Regions from separate parts of the Homo sapiens genome. Here regions 2, 3, 4 and 5 are each linked to region 1. Evidence: promoter capture Hi-C in 16 types of primary human blood cells and fetal thymus (Javierre and others, 2016). All regions are on one chromosome and are shown on one strand. The core of a region is centred on a gene start or on the middle of the fragment in contact, and the rest is flanking DNA. Distances in the headings are between cores, read along the strand shown. Region 1 holds the start of PKHD1 (PKHD1 ciliary IPT domain containing fibrocystin/polyductin). Region 2 has its middle 44 kb from the start of GSTA2. Region 3 has its middle 29 kb from the start of TMEM14A. Region 4 overlaps LOC730101 (a long non-coding RNA gene). Region 5 has its middle 27 kb from the start of TMEM14A.

Region 1 (2,911 bases), core at 267-2,766:
CACACACAAAGTGTGTGTGTATGTGTGTGTGTGTGGCAGGGTCTCATTCTGTCATTTGGGCTGGAGTGCAGTGGCATGATGTCAGTTCACTGCAACCTCCATCTCCCAGGTTCAAGTGATTCTTATGCCTCAGCCTCCTGAGTAGCTGGGATTACAGGTGTGCGCCACCACACCCGGCTAATTTTTGAATTTTTTGTAGAGACAGGTTTTCACCATGATAGCCAGACTGGTCTTGAACTCCTGGCCTCAAGTGATCTCCCTGCCTCAGCCTCCCAAAGTGCTGGGATTACAGGCATGAACCACCACACCTGGCCATTTAATTTATATTTTTAAGAAAACACTGAGATTAGCAGAAGTAGTTACATCATTTCTGAAAATATAAAAGCTACAATATACTCCCCCCCTCAAAAAAAAAATCTGCAAAAACTTTGCAATAAACTCACCTTACGGGCATGTTCTGATTGAGACAGCTGGAAATCTATAATCATTTCTATTTAATTCAACACTGCAAACATTTATTGTATGCCCACTACGTGCTAAGCACTATACTAAAAGTTGGGAAAACAAACAATCTATGTACCTGCCCCCGAGTCATTACCAGATAGGGTAAGTGTGGAGGCTACTTGGATTTAAGAAAGGAATTCTAGTATTTTCAAGTGGATTCAGCAAGTGTTCCTTTTCGTTGCAAAATTCCCAAACTTTTACGTCTATTTGAAATAGAATTCAACTTATAAATATACAACTTTCAGAATACATCTACCACATAGGGAAAAGTACCCAAGCGTATTTGCTGCTTAGTCCAAAAGCATGAGATCTGACTTGCTTGTTACACAGACAAAATATACTCAGCACAGGAGAGTCTATTTTCAATCTGGCTACGTGATTTTAACATTTCTTCTTAATGCCTACTCCCAAGCTCAGAACAATAGAAATAAACATTCGCACACTGGTTTTCTTAAAACCCTACATTTGGAACTGCATCTTTTTCATGTCAATTATAAATGTAATTTTTTATTAGTCTATCCACTAATTCTTCCTAAAAATAAACTCAGACTCTCTTTATTTCTCATAACTAAAATTTTTCAACCACAGAGGAGAGCTGTGTGCATTTATTTAGTCATGTTTTTGTTCTCCTCTCTCTCTCTCCTCTCTCTGCTCTCACTCCCTCTTCCCTTCTTCCTCCCTTCCCTCTCAGCTTCTCCTTTGGGACATCGAGGGACAAAGTTGCAAGGCACTACTATAGATCTCCCATTTCTTCCTTTTGTTCACCAGAACGTTAACAAGAGATACAACACCTAGAAAACAGAGAGCAGAGACTTTTCTGGATCAAACAGTACCTTTTTTTTCTGTTTCTGTCTCCTTGTGACTCAAGGGAGAAATGATCCTTTCTTTCTAAGTGATCTTATTTCTCTCTGTCAAGAATCCGTGGACATGTTATCTGGTTAGAGCTCAGCCTGCAGCCACCACGCAGGTAACTCACTCACGTTAGACTATAACTCACCTAACTCGTTTGTGTCCCAGCCAAATGTGTACCAGAGTAAAAGTTCAGACCTGACCATGGGTAAGTTTAATGATTAACATAAGCCACTCAGGCTTTTTCCTCAGGGCTTGTTAGTAATGACCAAAGGAAAAGTGTCTTACATTTTTCTCCACTTACTGCATGTGCCCCAGATAAGAATTTTAAGTAAAAGTCCACCCAGTGAGACAAACAGGCATTCAACATTGAAAGAATTTGCCAGCAAATCAGCGATTGAACAGAGGGCTCAAGAGAAAGGACCACTAGAGGGCAGATCCCCATTCATGAACAGTCTCTCACTCTTCATCCCGAAGAGTGACTCGTAAATACCAGGTTATGGGCTGTTATTCATATACCCACTGTAGGGGTATGGGTCTAAAGAAGTACAGAAGGGAAGTAACTTGGTCCAAGTCTTGCTGAGAAAGGGTTGATTGATTCTCTTCATTTTTCTACTCCTCATCCTCCCTCTTGACCTTGCTTTTTTAACCAAGAGGAGGTCCTTGACTTGTACTCATCACCCTCCAGTCGTACCCAGACCATGGGCCTCAGTCATCGGTTGAACTGGTGGGCCTAGGAAGGTCAACAACACCTTCTTACTTGGTCCATGTCTGACTTCTCTGTTCCTGTCCCACTGCCCATTCTGATTCACATCCCCCAATTCCTGATCATGTTTGTCTACGTCTGGCGATACCTGACCAGAAGACGTCCTTATCTTCTATCCTCTCCCTTTCCTTTGAGGGAGAAGTCATTTTGGTAAAATTTGATAGCCCTGAGTCTCCACCTTCAAGGACCAGCAGTAGACCTGGAGAAGCATCTCCAGCAAAACCAGATTAAAGCCATGGAAATACGACCACAACTCTGATGACAGTAGTAAAACTATCCTCTAGAAAGTGTGGAAGTTTACATCAACTCTGCTGTATATCACAGTTTGGCAACCCGTGACAAGCTGAAAAATTTTTGTAGCCCTGAAGCTAGTGGTGTAGAGAGAGGGTGCTTGGCCAGATTGGGGCAGGTAGGGGGTCAGTCACCCCACCACCCTGCCTGCCTGCTGAACCTCTCTCAGTTTCCACTCTGGATCTCTTCCATGCAGGTCAACAAGCATCATTTGAACCACATTTGTGTGCCTGGCATGTGGGTAATGGGAAGGAGGGGGAAGACTAGTTTGGGGGTAAAGGAGATTTCAACATTATTAGTAACTTTTATTTTTATAAAAATGATATGAATCACTTAGATAATTCAAAGTTATATTTTTAAAGAGTATGACACAGTTTCTGCCTTCAAACTGCTTACCATCTGGCAGAGGAGACAGAAATATAATCAGATTATTTTATTATATTGTAGAGTCTCCTGATAAGTTTCCTAAGACTTATGTTTTATTTCTTGTTATTTCAACAA
Region 2 (2,911 bases), core at 104-2,603, 630 kb after region 1:
CCCCAAAAAAATTCAAATAAACTCAAAATGAAAGTTTGAAACATGAGAAACAGACTGCTAATTTATTTAGAAATATATTTTTCATAGTGTGTGTTCATATGTCTATTATTCTAAAAATTATTTATACATCTAGAATAGAATGGCAAATCTCTAGCCTATTCATTCAAATTAGTATCTATTATTGATTTGAGGTGAGAGAATAATGAGAGTATTTAGCTATAACTGAATAAATCAGGTTAATTCATTTTAAATCATTTTAGTTGTGATTTTGGCTTTAATGTAAGCTCTCGCTTTATTTTAAGCTTAGGATAAATTGAAAATAATTCTCAGTATCTGTGACTTAAGTTTTAAGCATATAGTAAGCACATTCTAGAATATTTCCTGCATTTTTAACAACTGAACTTTTTGCTTGAGAGAAAGTGGTGACTTCCTCAGTCAAATGGCATCAAACAGAGCTCCAAGCAATCGGTATTAATAGAATATCATCTTGCACCAGCTTTCTCTAGCTCTTTCTTTCCTTTTGTAACTACTTCCAAATCTATCTTTTATTTGAGGGAAATTATTAAAAAAAAGACTCAATAGACTATGAACATCAATCATTTCCCTCTACCTATTTGCAAAAAAGGAGAGATGAGAAGTAATTACTCTGCATTTACCTTGTTCTAACCAGAAGAACTTTAGCAAGCAGGCAAAGCTGCTAAGTAGGTAATTTCACAGCTTTCAAGTGTGCCTCTAAAATAAAAAATCAAAGGCAATAATTCCATCTTTAACAGGTGTAAGAATAAAAGGAATTAAATAGACCAGTAATTACATGCCTTTTAAAATTATGTTTATCCTCAGCCTAGGATTCTGGAAATGTATCATCAGTCATCTTGGCATTATGCCTCCATTCTGCTTTCTACTCAAACTGGCTTTTAGTAATGAGGATTCTTGGGCAATTTCAGAGGAAGAATAAAGACTTTCCATTACATTAAAAAGTCAATCCAGTAAGCTAGCACACAGTACAAGCTCATGGTTCCTTGAATATTGAATACATATTTTCTGGTTTATAGAAAATCTTTATATCCTGCTTGTGATATAAAGTGGGATTTTTTTGCTCCCATGAAGATGGTGCCTCGGCACATACTGGTCTCACTTAGAAAGGTCTGCACTTCACTCTCCTTGCAGGACATTGCTTGGCACTAGTTACTAAATTGTTACCAACAGTGGAAAATAAAGCTTTGTAAAATAATCGGAGATAGCTAGATAAGCAAACAAGTTAGTTTATTTAAACTGTATTGAAAAAAAATTAAGCAAAATCAATTCTTTTTGTAAGAAGTCCCAATGACATGTTACATATTAATCCAATGTTTTAAAATTGTGAATCTTAAATCATGGAACTTCATAATTCAGTGCAATTCAGCCCTTAAACATTTGGTACACGTTTTCTTCATGTATGTGTATGTGTGTGGACCATATGTTTAAGTTCAAACAGGCATCCTTATACTGGAAGCTTCATTTTAAGAAAACTTAACATAAAAATACTAACTTATAAAACATGATATTAGAGGCAATTAACCACATTCACAGGTCTGCTTTTAGTTTTGAAATGATTTGGTGAGTTTAAGGGGGATGCTCTTGGAGTATATTTAAATTGTTCTGTTAAAATGTTTCGATTGACATTTACCTTCTCTGTGAGCTGTATCTGGCAAATAGCAGTCTCAGTTATAGTTATGAGTTAGTAGCTGCCCTGTTTGTGTCAGCATAATTCATTTATTTTAGAAATTTTACCAACATTCTTATTGCTATGGTCTGAATGTTTGTGTCCCCCTAAAATTCATATGTTGAAACCTAATCTCCAAGGTGATGCCATTAAGAAGTGGGGCCTTTGGGAGGTGCCTAGGTCATGAGGACAGAGCCTCATGAATGGAATTAGTGCCTTTAGGGCCATTATAAATGAGGCCCAAGGGAGTTTGCTGGCCCCTTCTACCATGTGAGGACTCAGTAAGAAGGCACTGTCTGATATGGTTTGGCTCTGTGTCCTCACCCAAATCTCATCTTGAATTGTAATCCCCATGTGTCAAGGGAGGGAAGTGATCTGATCATGGGAACAGTTTCCCCCATGCTATTCTCATGATAGTGAGTGAGTTCTCACGATATCTGATGGTTTTATGTGTTTGGTATTTCCTCCGCTTGCACTTCTGTCTCCTGCCACCATGTGAAGAAGGGCCTTGCTTCCCTTTTGCCTTCTGCTGTAATTGTAAGTTTCCTGAGGCCTCCCCAGCCTTGTGAAACTGTGAGTCAATTAAACCTCTTTCCTATATAAATTACCCAGTCTTGGGCAGTATTTTTATAGTGGTGTGAGAACGGACTAATACACCGTCTACGAAGAAACAGGCCCTCACCAGACACCTGCCTGAGCCTTGACCTCGGACTTCTCAGCATCCAGAACTGTGAGAAATTAATTTCTGTTGTTTATAAACACCTCAGTTTACGGCATTTTATTCCAGCCACTGAATGGACTAAGACACTTATCCACTAGACTCCAGAAAAGTAATTTAATTTAGTTTGGCAAATCCACACACTATGACTGATTTTCAGTTTTATCTTCATTCTTTTTTTGGTACAGAAGCAGATGGATTTTTCCTCATAAGTTTCAGTTATGCTTTCAAATAGCTGTAGTGTGGAACCATACCTCCCAAAATACTGTGTCTTCTGGGCAAAATCTGCATGGAAGAGGGCCAGCCTTTGGATTCCCATTTCACCTAGAATAAAATCCATACTCCTTGACGGGACTTACAGCAGTGAGTCATCTACCACCTCCCACCCCCCTCCTCAAGCCACACCTCTGCCCTCTACTCTTCAGCCAAGCTCCAGGGGCTTGGGGTACACAGAGACACTGAGTACTTTCTCTCTTCAAACCTGTGAAAAT
Region 3 (2,911 bases), core at 302-2,801, 610 kb after region 1:
CTTTTCAGCCGCAATTTGAATGCAGGCTACTCCCCTTAATTGGCTCAGATAAGTTACTCTCTTCTAATTTCAGTTTCCTAACATGTGAAATGAAGCTAATACCTACTGGTGGTGCTGTCATGATGGTTAAATGACATGATGTATAGTAAAGACTAACTCCCATCTTGGCTCAGTATTTGACCTTTGTTATTTTTTTTCTCATAACTTTCCCTTGGGTGGTGTTTGTTACCCCTTATTCCTAGTGCTAAAGAACAGGCAAATATTTGATTGTCTCATTACATACCTTCTCTTTAAGCCAAAGAGGCTTAGACATAGGAATTAAGTTGCAGCTAATCTTAGAAGTTACTTGGTAACAATCTAATAATAAAACAAAATTAACTTAAAAGATCCTTTGTTGCATATTTAAAGAAACATAAATCAAGCTATCTTTTCTTACCACTCACAAGAGTTTTTAATCAGTGTTATTGTTAGATTGTTACCAATTAACTTCTGGATACTTTCGCTTTAAAATACATTTACCAATTAAATGTGTGCATTTTGTATAGCATAATTTTAACATAAAATTGAAATACAATTAGTTTTCCTGTATTATTAATATTTTCTAGCATAGAGATGTAAAAACCCAACAAAAACTGGAAAATATTATTTTTCCCAGATTGTATTCTATCCGTTTTACAATAAAAAATAATTTGAAATGTTAAATTTTACAATTTGGAGTAATAAAAAATATTCAGAGAAGATGCTAATACATAGCTTCCTGGTCATAATTCCTAAGTACTTAATGTTAAATAGTGTTAAACCTTGATGTCCTATCACTCTCATTCCTATACCTGAAGACCAGCATTAACTTCAACTCTCAAACACAAGAGTAAGAGACATTTCAGTCTCAGGGAATTCTGCCATTTTTATAAGACAAAGAAGATGGATGTAAAGCTCTCTTCCCCTTATTTATTTAAAAATATTTTCAATATTATTGCAGAAGTGCTAAAACTCATTGTAGAAAAATTAGAAAATACGGATAAAAATTTTCAGCCACCCATATTGGCCTTTCTCTAAAAATGAGCAGATGTTTAGTAGACATATTATTTTCCTTATGACTATGTCTTAATGAACAGAAATGTGGCATTCAGAAGTAGAAATTGGATGCTTACTAAATTTAAAAATAATCTGTATGCAAGGGTAGAGTGTGAGTGTGAATATGGGGAGGGAGTTCGTCTTTATCCCCTCTGCTCTTTGTTTTTGCAAAATAAGTTCTCTCTGGGTCTGCTTTACAATCCCCAGTACTAGATGTTTTCTCTTCACTACCTTCGATGCTCCAAAACACTTCCATGTTTCAGAGAGTTGGTGGGTCTCTTTCTCTCTCTCATATTTTCACCAGGAAAAAAGGAAAGGCAGCAGCTGACATTATAATATTGGAGCTCTTCTTAACCAAAGCTTCCTTTGGATGCTTAGGAAGCCTAGAGAGGTCAAGTGACTTGCCTAAAGTCTTTCAGCTAAATGGTAGAAGAACCAGAGCTAGGTTGCCCTCTCACCAAGCCTACTACATCTTCAATATTATCATCTTGGTAAATGTGTAATTTTATGTAAATAATTATTATAAAAGGAAGTCATCATATTCCAAAGTTAACAAATATGAGAATATGGACAGTGATTACCAAGGTATAAAACAAAGCTTTCCAAAAAGCAGCATTTTTTTCCTAAACATGCTTTACTTTACTTATTTTTTCCTAAGCACTATTTACTTACAACTTACAATATTTATGAAGTGTGATGAAAAATGCATACATTTGTGATTTCAGTTTCTCCTACAATTTTTCATGTCAGGAACTCTGAGGTAACTTAGGCTATCTGATCCGGCGAGTCTCCAAGAATCAGAGAGGCAGAGCTCAATCTCCAATTCCAACAAGGGCTTTACCAGGGTAAGCCCTGAGAGGAGGTGGGCAGACCGCGGGAGGGTGGCAGGTTGGAGGGAGAGGTAGGGTTGTGGGAAATAGGAGGCAGTCCAGCCTGCTGGCATTCACAGTTCTAGGTCTGGACATGAAACTATATGGGGTACATCCAGATTTCTCAGACTAGATACTATCTGAAGAATTTTCTGCTACGTTTTGATTGAGTTTCGCCGGATCACACCAAAGAGGTTTCGCTCCTGAACTTTTAAAAATCTTCAATTTTATCTTTTGCTTAAAGGCTAATTGTGTGAGGAGCTGTGTTAGGTACAGCAGGGGCTCCAAAGACAAGCAAAGCACAGCCATTTCAGCAAAATTGTAAATCTTAGAGCATAATTATTAAACTTTTGAAAATTTACTCTGACTCATAACACAAGGAAATTTCAGGCACAGGAGGTGGCTATTGGCTACGGTCATGTGCTACATAATATTTCAGTCAACCATGGACTGCTTATACAATGAGATTATAATACTATATTTTTACTGTAACTTTTCTATGTTTAGATACACAAATACTTTTTTTTTTTTTGAGACACAGTTTCACTCTTGTTGCCCAGGCTGGAGTGCAATGGCATGATCTTGGCTCACTGCAACCTCCGCCTCTCGGGTTCAAGCAATTCTCCTGCCTCAGCCTCCCAAGTAACTGAGATTACAGGAATGCGCCATCATGCCCAGCTAATTTTGTATTTTTAGTAGAGACAGGGTTTCTCCATGTTGGTCAGGCTGGTCTCAAACTCCCAAACTCAGGTGATCCACCCACCTCAACCTCCCAAAGTCCTGGAATTACAGGTGTGAGCCACCTCAACCGGCCTCACAAATACTTATTATTGCATTACAGTTTCCTACAGTATTCACTACAGTAACATGCTGTTCAGGTTTGTAGCCTAATAGTAATAGACTGTACCATAAAGCCCAGGTGTGTAGCAGTCTTTACATCCGGGTTTGGGAGAATAACCTCTATGTTG
Region 4 (2,911 bases), core at 140-2,639, 580 kb after region 1:
TAATGAGAATGGTTATAATACCAATGCAACCATGACCCCATCACTGAAGAAGAAGGCTAAACGACTATGTAATTTTGATGATGGATGGAAGGACACATACTACTGAACTAGGAAGGTAAATAACCAAAACAGAGCATACTACATAATATACAGAAAAAAATTTGAGATTGGACATGGTGGAGAAGGGGATGTGCAAGCACATATGGAGGGCAAATCTCACAAGTAAGATGGGACAGGTGAATGCTTCTAAACCAATCAAAAATACCTTTGTTTCCCCAAAAGACACCAATGCTCAGTCAAAAATAGCAGCTGCTGAATTAGCATGGGCATACCAGGCAAATAAGCCTGCATTGTCATAGCGTTCCCTTGATTGCTCTATGAAACTGAGTAAAGTTTCATTTCCTGATTCAAGAATTGCAGCTAAAATATCCTCTGGACAAAGAAGAAGGGAAATTTTTTGATAACAGATGTGTTGGCTCCTTACAGTATAAAGCCAATTTCTGTCATATCTCACCAACAATCCTGGTTTCTACAGTACATCAATTTTAAGTAATATGCCAAATCATGGCAGCAAAAATATGTTCCCTCTAGCTGTTAGGTACTTTGACTTGAAAACAGGAGTTTCAAATCATCTTCTTCATTTCTGTGAGGATTTTAATGAAACTGCTGAAATCATAAAATATTGTTGATATTTTGTCTAAATACAAACTAGACTTAGCTCATCTATCTGTGTATTCGTCAGACAGTATAGATGTAAAATTTTGGCAAATTGCATTCAGTCTACAAACTTCTTACCAAAGAAAATGAAAAGATCTTATCCATTCAATGCCTTGTACATCTTATATACAACACTGCTAAAAAGGGATGTGAGTTGCTTAAATGTGACATTGAGACTTTCATAATGAAAGCTTTTGGTTACTTTTCAATTTCCTCAAAAAGTGCAAAAGCACTTATGGAGATTTTTGACTTCACAGAAATGGAAGGTAACCTCTTTAGACGTGTGCCTGCAAGATGGCTGTCATTGTAAGTGAGCCATAGAAACGATGCTAAAATGTTGGCCTGCCATAAGATCATATTTTCAAAGGACAAGAATAATGTCCTTTGACATTGTTTGAAATCTGAAAGGAGAAAAAAATCAAGAATCTGAAGTGGGCCTTAAAAAAATCAGTAAGTCCCTTGTGACTCTGATTTTTATGAATCTGTCTCTCAAAAGCCAGGGTGCCCCCAGAAGAACTGAGACAAACTGAGTTTCTGAACATTTGAAAATGAGGAGCAGGCTCAGGATCCACAGGGTGTAACCATCCCGTGAGGCCCTGCCTGAGCAGCCAGCCAGTCAGTGAGGCTCTTCACCTTACTTCCATTTCTCTGATTCCATCTATGTACAACTTACGAAAACTTGCATTATTATAGACTGGGAGTTCTTAAATTGGAATCTGTGAATCTAAAGGGGCCAGAGGATAGAAATCAGGAAATCTGAAAACTTCGATGGAAAAAAGTTTTTATTTATTTCCATCAGGAAAATAGGCAACAAACCACAGCAGTATTAGTACCTGTGTCTCTGTCATCACTAGGAATCACAGATATCCACGTTACAGATATCTTAAAATATTTATGTACAGCACCACTCTGAAATTATGGTAATAATTAGATCCACCCCCTAGGTCTTGTAATCTTTAATATGTTAATAAAGAAGCACATCTATTATGTGACAGATTTAAATGTTTAAGAATTTGATTTCAATGAAATTGCATTTCAATAAAATTGGCTTCCTTTGCAATCCTGTGTATTTTATTTTGTGCATTTCTCCAGACTGCCAAAGAGGTTGGTGACACATTGAAAGTTAAGAGTCTCTGCTGTGGATCATGCATAGAAAGCTTTACAAAACAGTTGAGGGGAATAGGCTTTCCTGCATCCTTACCTTGGGCTGCAGCCTTTCCATTAGCTGGAGAAGGCAGCAGCTGGTGCCTATGAGTTGAGAGGGCAGTGGTCCCTTTGCCTAAGAACCATCCTGTTCCCACATATTCAAGGGTATGGAATTCCCATAATATTCAAAGAGTTTTTCTTTAGTTTTAGGTGATACGCCTTGAGTAGGAATATCATGAGGCTGTTTCCAGCTTCGAGTATGTTGGTGATAGGGTGTAAGGGATCTCAGAGCATCTAGTCTTGTCCATATCTTAAATCCAGGCACTGAGGTCCAGAGGGGAGTTATTTACCCAGGTCACATCAGATGAAGATAATGAAGTATTCCAAGAGGATTTTAGTTTTATTCCAAATAGGGTAAGTGTTCTGAGAGTGTGAGGAGAGAAGGTGAGGAGGCTGGGGTAAGGATGGGCATAGAAGGGGATGGAAAGGAGGGCTGAGAGAACTCAGAACCAAATTTCAGGCTATCACTTTCTCCACGCCACATTCCAGTGCCTTGCCATCAACTCTTCTGTGAATCTTCAGGAATTTTATTAATTCCCCAGGACCAACTTAGACTTTCATAAGTTAGATGTAGTTATATTACTTCCCTGAAGCACTTTTATGCACAAAGAATAGATGTAGCAAACAAACTTCACAAGATTTAATTTTTGAGTTTCCTTTTTTATTCTGAGGAATTCCGCTGTAATTCTCAGTGACACAGAACCTCTAGAGCTACTTCACTATGACAACCTTCTTCAAATCTCCAAAGGGCTGTTACATAAGGAAGAGGGTCGGAGTTCTGTATTCAATCAAGAAGGCAGAAGATTGAGATGATAAGTTGCTACAGGGAGGCATAATTTAAAGTCAATTTAAACTGTAATCCCAGCACTTTGGGAGGCAGAGGCGGGAGGATTGCTTTGAGCTCAGGAATTCAAGACCATCCTGGGCAACACAGTGAAACCCCGTCTCTACAAAAAAAAAATAGTCGGGTGAGGTGGCACACACCTGT
Region 5 (2,911 bases), core at 106-2,605, 560 kb after region 1:
ATCATAGTAGTTAAAAAATATGCTGGTGACTGCAAAAGCCAATGTATCAACCTTTAAAATGAAGAAATAATGAAATGAAAACTAACTTTGTTGAAGATTAGGACAGTCCTTGGGATGGTATGTGATATAAGTTTTAAACTCTGTGTAAAAATAAAACCTGAGTGCAAAGCCTGTTGGATATATGTCTACTTCTGCCACATTCTATTTTCCAAAACCCAGCAATATCTTCTATTGAATTGGAAATTGTAGACTAATGTTAAGAAGGGCCTAATGTCAGCCCTCACTGCATTGGGCACCAGAGATGTGTTTAGTCACTGAGAAGCAGGACCTGGATAACTGCCACAGAGAAAACAGGGGCTGAGCTGTCCACACAGTGAAACTCACAAGGCACACAATGGCAAAGTCAGTTCATCCAAAGGACCTGTTGTAAACTGCTAGGCTGCGGCACTGAGATTGTGTGTCAGTTACAGATATCCAAGCTGCTTTGAAATCCAGGGAGCAGCTAATCAGTTAAAAAGCGTTCAACTGAGAAAAAACAAAACTTCAACCATACCCAACTGTGACTGTGATGGAGAAGATTAGCGCCTATCTGAAGGTGGTTTGTGACATTAATGTGTGTGTGTGCTGTGTAGGTTTGGTCTGAATAACCCCTTATTCACAGCACCATGATTCAGGTGCCCTGTCAATGCTTCCTTCTTCTCTCTAAATTCTCCTCCTTCAAGGTCTTGCCTCCATCCTCAAACAGTGTTGGTCCATCTGCTGATAAACATATGGAATAAGCAGGACTTGTAGACATTTTTAGACCCTATCTGGAGCAGTGAGAACTGTCTATTTCAGAAAAAGATAGAGACAAAAGCAGATGCAGAAAGGGAGGCAGACACAAAGAATGAAAGTGCCAAGTAAAGAAAGTGACAGGCAGGTTCTTGGAGACTGAGGTAGAGAAGCACAGACAGGATAAGACAGAGAAAAAATAAGGCAGAGACAGGGAGAACCCCAAAAAGAGAGAGAATAGAAAGAAACAGAGGTAGAAACTCTTGAGAAAGCTAGGCAGACAGTAATGACAGCTTCAACCGGTCAGTATTGGAGGGAGAGAGGAATAGAGAGAGGTAGCAGAGGAAGTCAGATAGGAGACAGCGGTAGTCCAAGAGAGACACATTCCGAGCAGAGGCAGACAGGGTGAAAGGGAGATGGAGGTCAGCAGAGAGCTAATGCCAGGCAGGAGTATGGAAAGTTTTGTGTGCATTTCTCCTAGAGAAATGAGAAATGGGACTGGTTTGCCAGGAGAGACAGCCTTTCCAGTCAGGACTCTTGAAGTGTATGATTGTAGTCATCCTAAATGGAAATGGGATTCCTTCCTCCCCAAGCCCATTCCTGCTCCATCTGGAGGGCAGTCTGGTGAATGTGGTTTTCTATGCTGGTATTCTGGGCCGTAGGAGGGCCTCACAGAACTGCAGAATGTTGGAACTGAGATCTGCATGGTAGATGTGTGTGGTTTCTTGGCCAGCCCCTCTTCACTTACCCTGTTTCCAGGAACGGCCTCCAATGTTTGTGGGGGATCCACCCTTCCCCACTTTCCATCCCTGTGGTTTTTGTGGAGTTGACAGTCCCTCCCTACCACCTCGCATTCCAGGGATGGTGTCCGACCCAGGACTGGCATATGATCCAGAGTGTCAGTTTCTCCTGTGGTCAGTGATTGGTTCAGGGATAAGAACATAACTCAGTCTCATTTTGGAGGGTCTGTTTGGGCTTCTGAGTTTGCCCTCAAATCCACATTTGAACCATGGAGACATGTTGGCTGGTACTGGGGCTGCCATCTTGCCGCCATGCATGGTCTGAAATGAAGCCAAACACATGGAGCAGTAGAGAGTAAAATAAAGAACAACTTGGTTCATGTGGCCTCTTTGGAACACTGTTCAAACTGTTTCTGAAGTTAGAACTATCTCTAGATTTTATTTGCAAGAGCCAATAGAGTAACTTTTTGCTTAACAGTTTAAACCAGTTTCAGTTGGATTTTCTGTCACTTGCAACTAAATCCTAACTGATGTAACGTCTTAGATACCATGCATCACCACATTTTATAGAAACTGAGTTTAAGTAATTCATCTAAGACTATGGCTAGTTAGTGGCAGGATATGAACTAGGTTTTTTCTACTATGTACCCCCTTAAACCCACTCTTTCATTCTCTCCACTTTATTTTATTTTTAAATTAAGATATAGGGCTCATTTCAAATATATGTTTTTACTCCAGTGACTTCATAAGTTCTAGAAATGCTAGCCCTAAGCAAAATTGCCACCTGATATGGTTTGGCTGTGTCCCCACCCAAATCTCATCTTGAATTGTGGCTCCCACAATTCCCATGTGTTGTAGGAGGGACCTTCATGGGGTGGGTCTTCCCCATGCTATTCTCATGATAGTGAATATGTCTCATGAGATCTGATGGTTTTATAAAGGGGAGTTTCCCTGCATGAGTTCTCTTCTCTTGTCTGCCACCATGTGAGACATGCCTTTCACCTTCCACCATGATTGTGAGGCCTCCCCAGCCAGGTGGAACTGTGAGTCCACTAAGCCTCTTTCTTTTGTAAATTGCCCAGTCTCAGCTATTTCCCCTTTCTGTGTGTCCTCTCTCCCTTCCTAAGCCATGGTAAGCAGAATATGACAGATATCATTGATACTTTTATGTGAGCTTACCATACAGAACATTTACCTTTTAAAAAAGAACAATAAAAAGATGCCAAATAAATAAATTTCTAATGCAGGAATTCCAAATATTGTAGCATGTGGTTAGAAGACATGCTTTGGAGTTGCCGAAACTTCTTGGAATTCTTTGAACTGTCAGCTCTGAGCACTAGGTCCAATATTTATTTATAAGATTATGAGAGAAATTACTGAAGAATCCTGAAATGTGTCTC

What was found. The method cuts DNA at HindIII sites, captures the fragments that hold promoters and counts their contacts. A CHiCAGO score of 5 or more calls a contact.
Region 2: a contact is called between a fragment that was not itself captured here and the fragment with the promoter of PKHD1 in region 1, in 1 of 17 cell types (non-activated CD4 T cells). The highest score is 5.3, in non-activated CD4 T cells.
Region 3: a contact is called between a fragment that was not itself captured here and the fragment with the promoter of PKHD1 in region 1, in 2 of 17 cell types (naive CD4 T cells and total CD4 T cells). The highest score is 6.1, in naive CD4 T cells.
Region 4: a fragment that was not itself captured here is called in contact with the fragment with the promoter of PKHD1 in region 1 in 1 of 17 cell types (total CD4 T cells); the score reaches 5.5 in total CD4 T cells.
Region 5: a contact is called between a fragment that was not itself captured here and the fragment with the promoter of PKHD1 in region 1, in 1 of 17 cell types (total CD4 T cells). The highest score is 5.3, in total CD4 T cells.

What each region holds. Positions count from the first base shown.
Region 1 is chr6:52,086,097-52,089,007 of GRCh38, forward strand. PKHD1 (PKHD1 ciliary IPT domain containing fibrocystin/polyductin) reads right to left here and starts at 1,517. Exons shown (of 67, transcript NM_138694.4): 1 at 1,338-1,517. The HindIII fragment of the contact is 11,017 bases long and covers 1-2,911 here.
Region 2 is chr6:52,717,862-52,720,772 of GRCh38, forward strand. No RefSeq gene overlaps it. Among named protein-coding and RNA genes, the nearest start is that of GSTA2, 44 kb to the right of the region's middle. The HindIII fragment of the contact is 274 bases long and covers 1,217-1,490 here.
Region 3 is chr6:52,698,628-52,701,538 of GRCh38, forward strand. No RefSeq gene overlaps it. Among named protein-coding and RNA genes, the nearest start is that of TMEM14A, 29 kb to the left of the region's middle. The HindIII fragment of the contact is 238 bases long and covers 1,433-1,670 here.
Region 4 is chr6:52,667,379-52,670,289 of GRCh38, forward strand. It overlaps LOC730101 (a long non-coding RNA gene), which reads left to right. Exons shown (of 3, transcript NR_024405.1): 3 at 1-1,775. Among named protein-coding and RNA genes, the nearest start is that of TMEM14A, 2.3 kb to the right of the region's middle. The HindIII fragment of the contact is 966 bases long and covers 907-1,872 here.
Region 5 is chr6:52,642,911-52,645,821 of GRCh38, forward strand. No RefSeq gene overlaps it. Among named protein-coding and RNA genes, the nearest start is that of TMEM14A, 27 kb to the right of the region's middle. The HindIII fragment of the contact is 3,233 bases long and covers 1-2,911 here.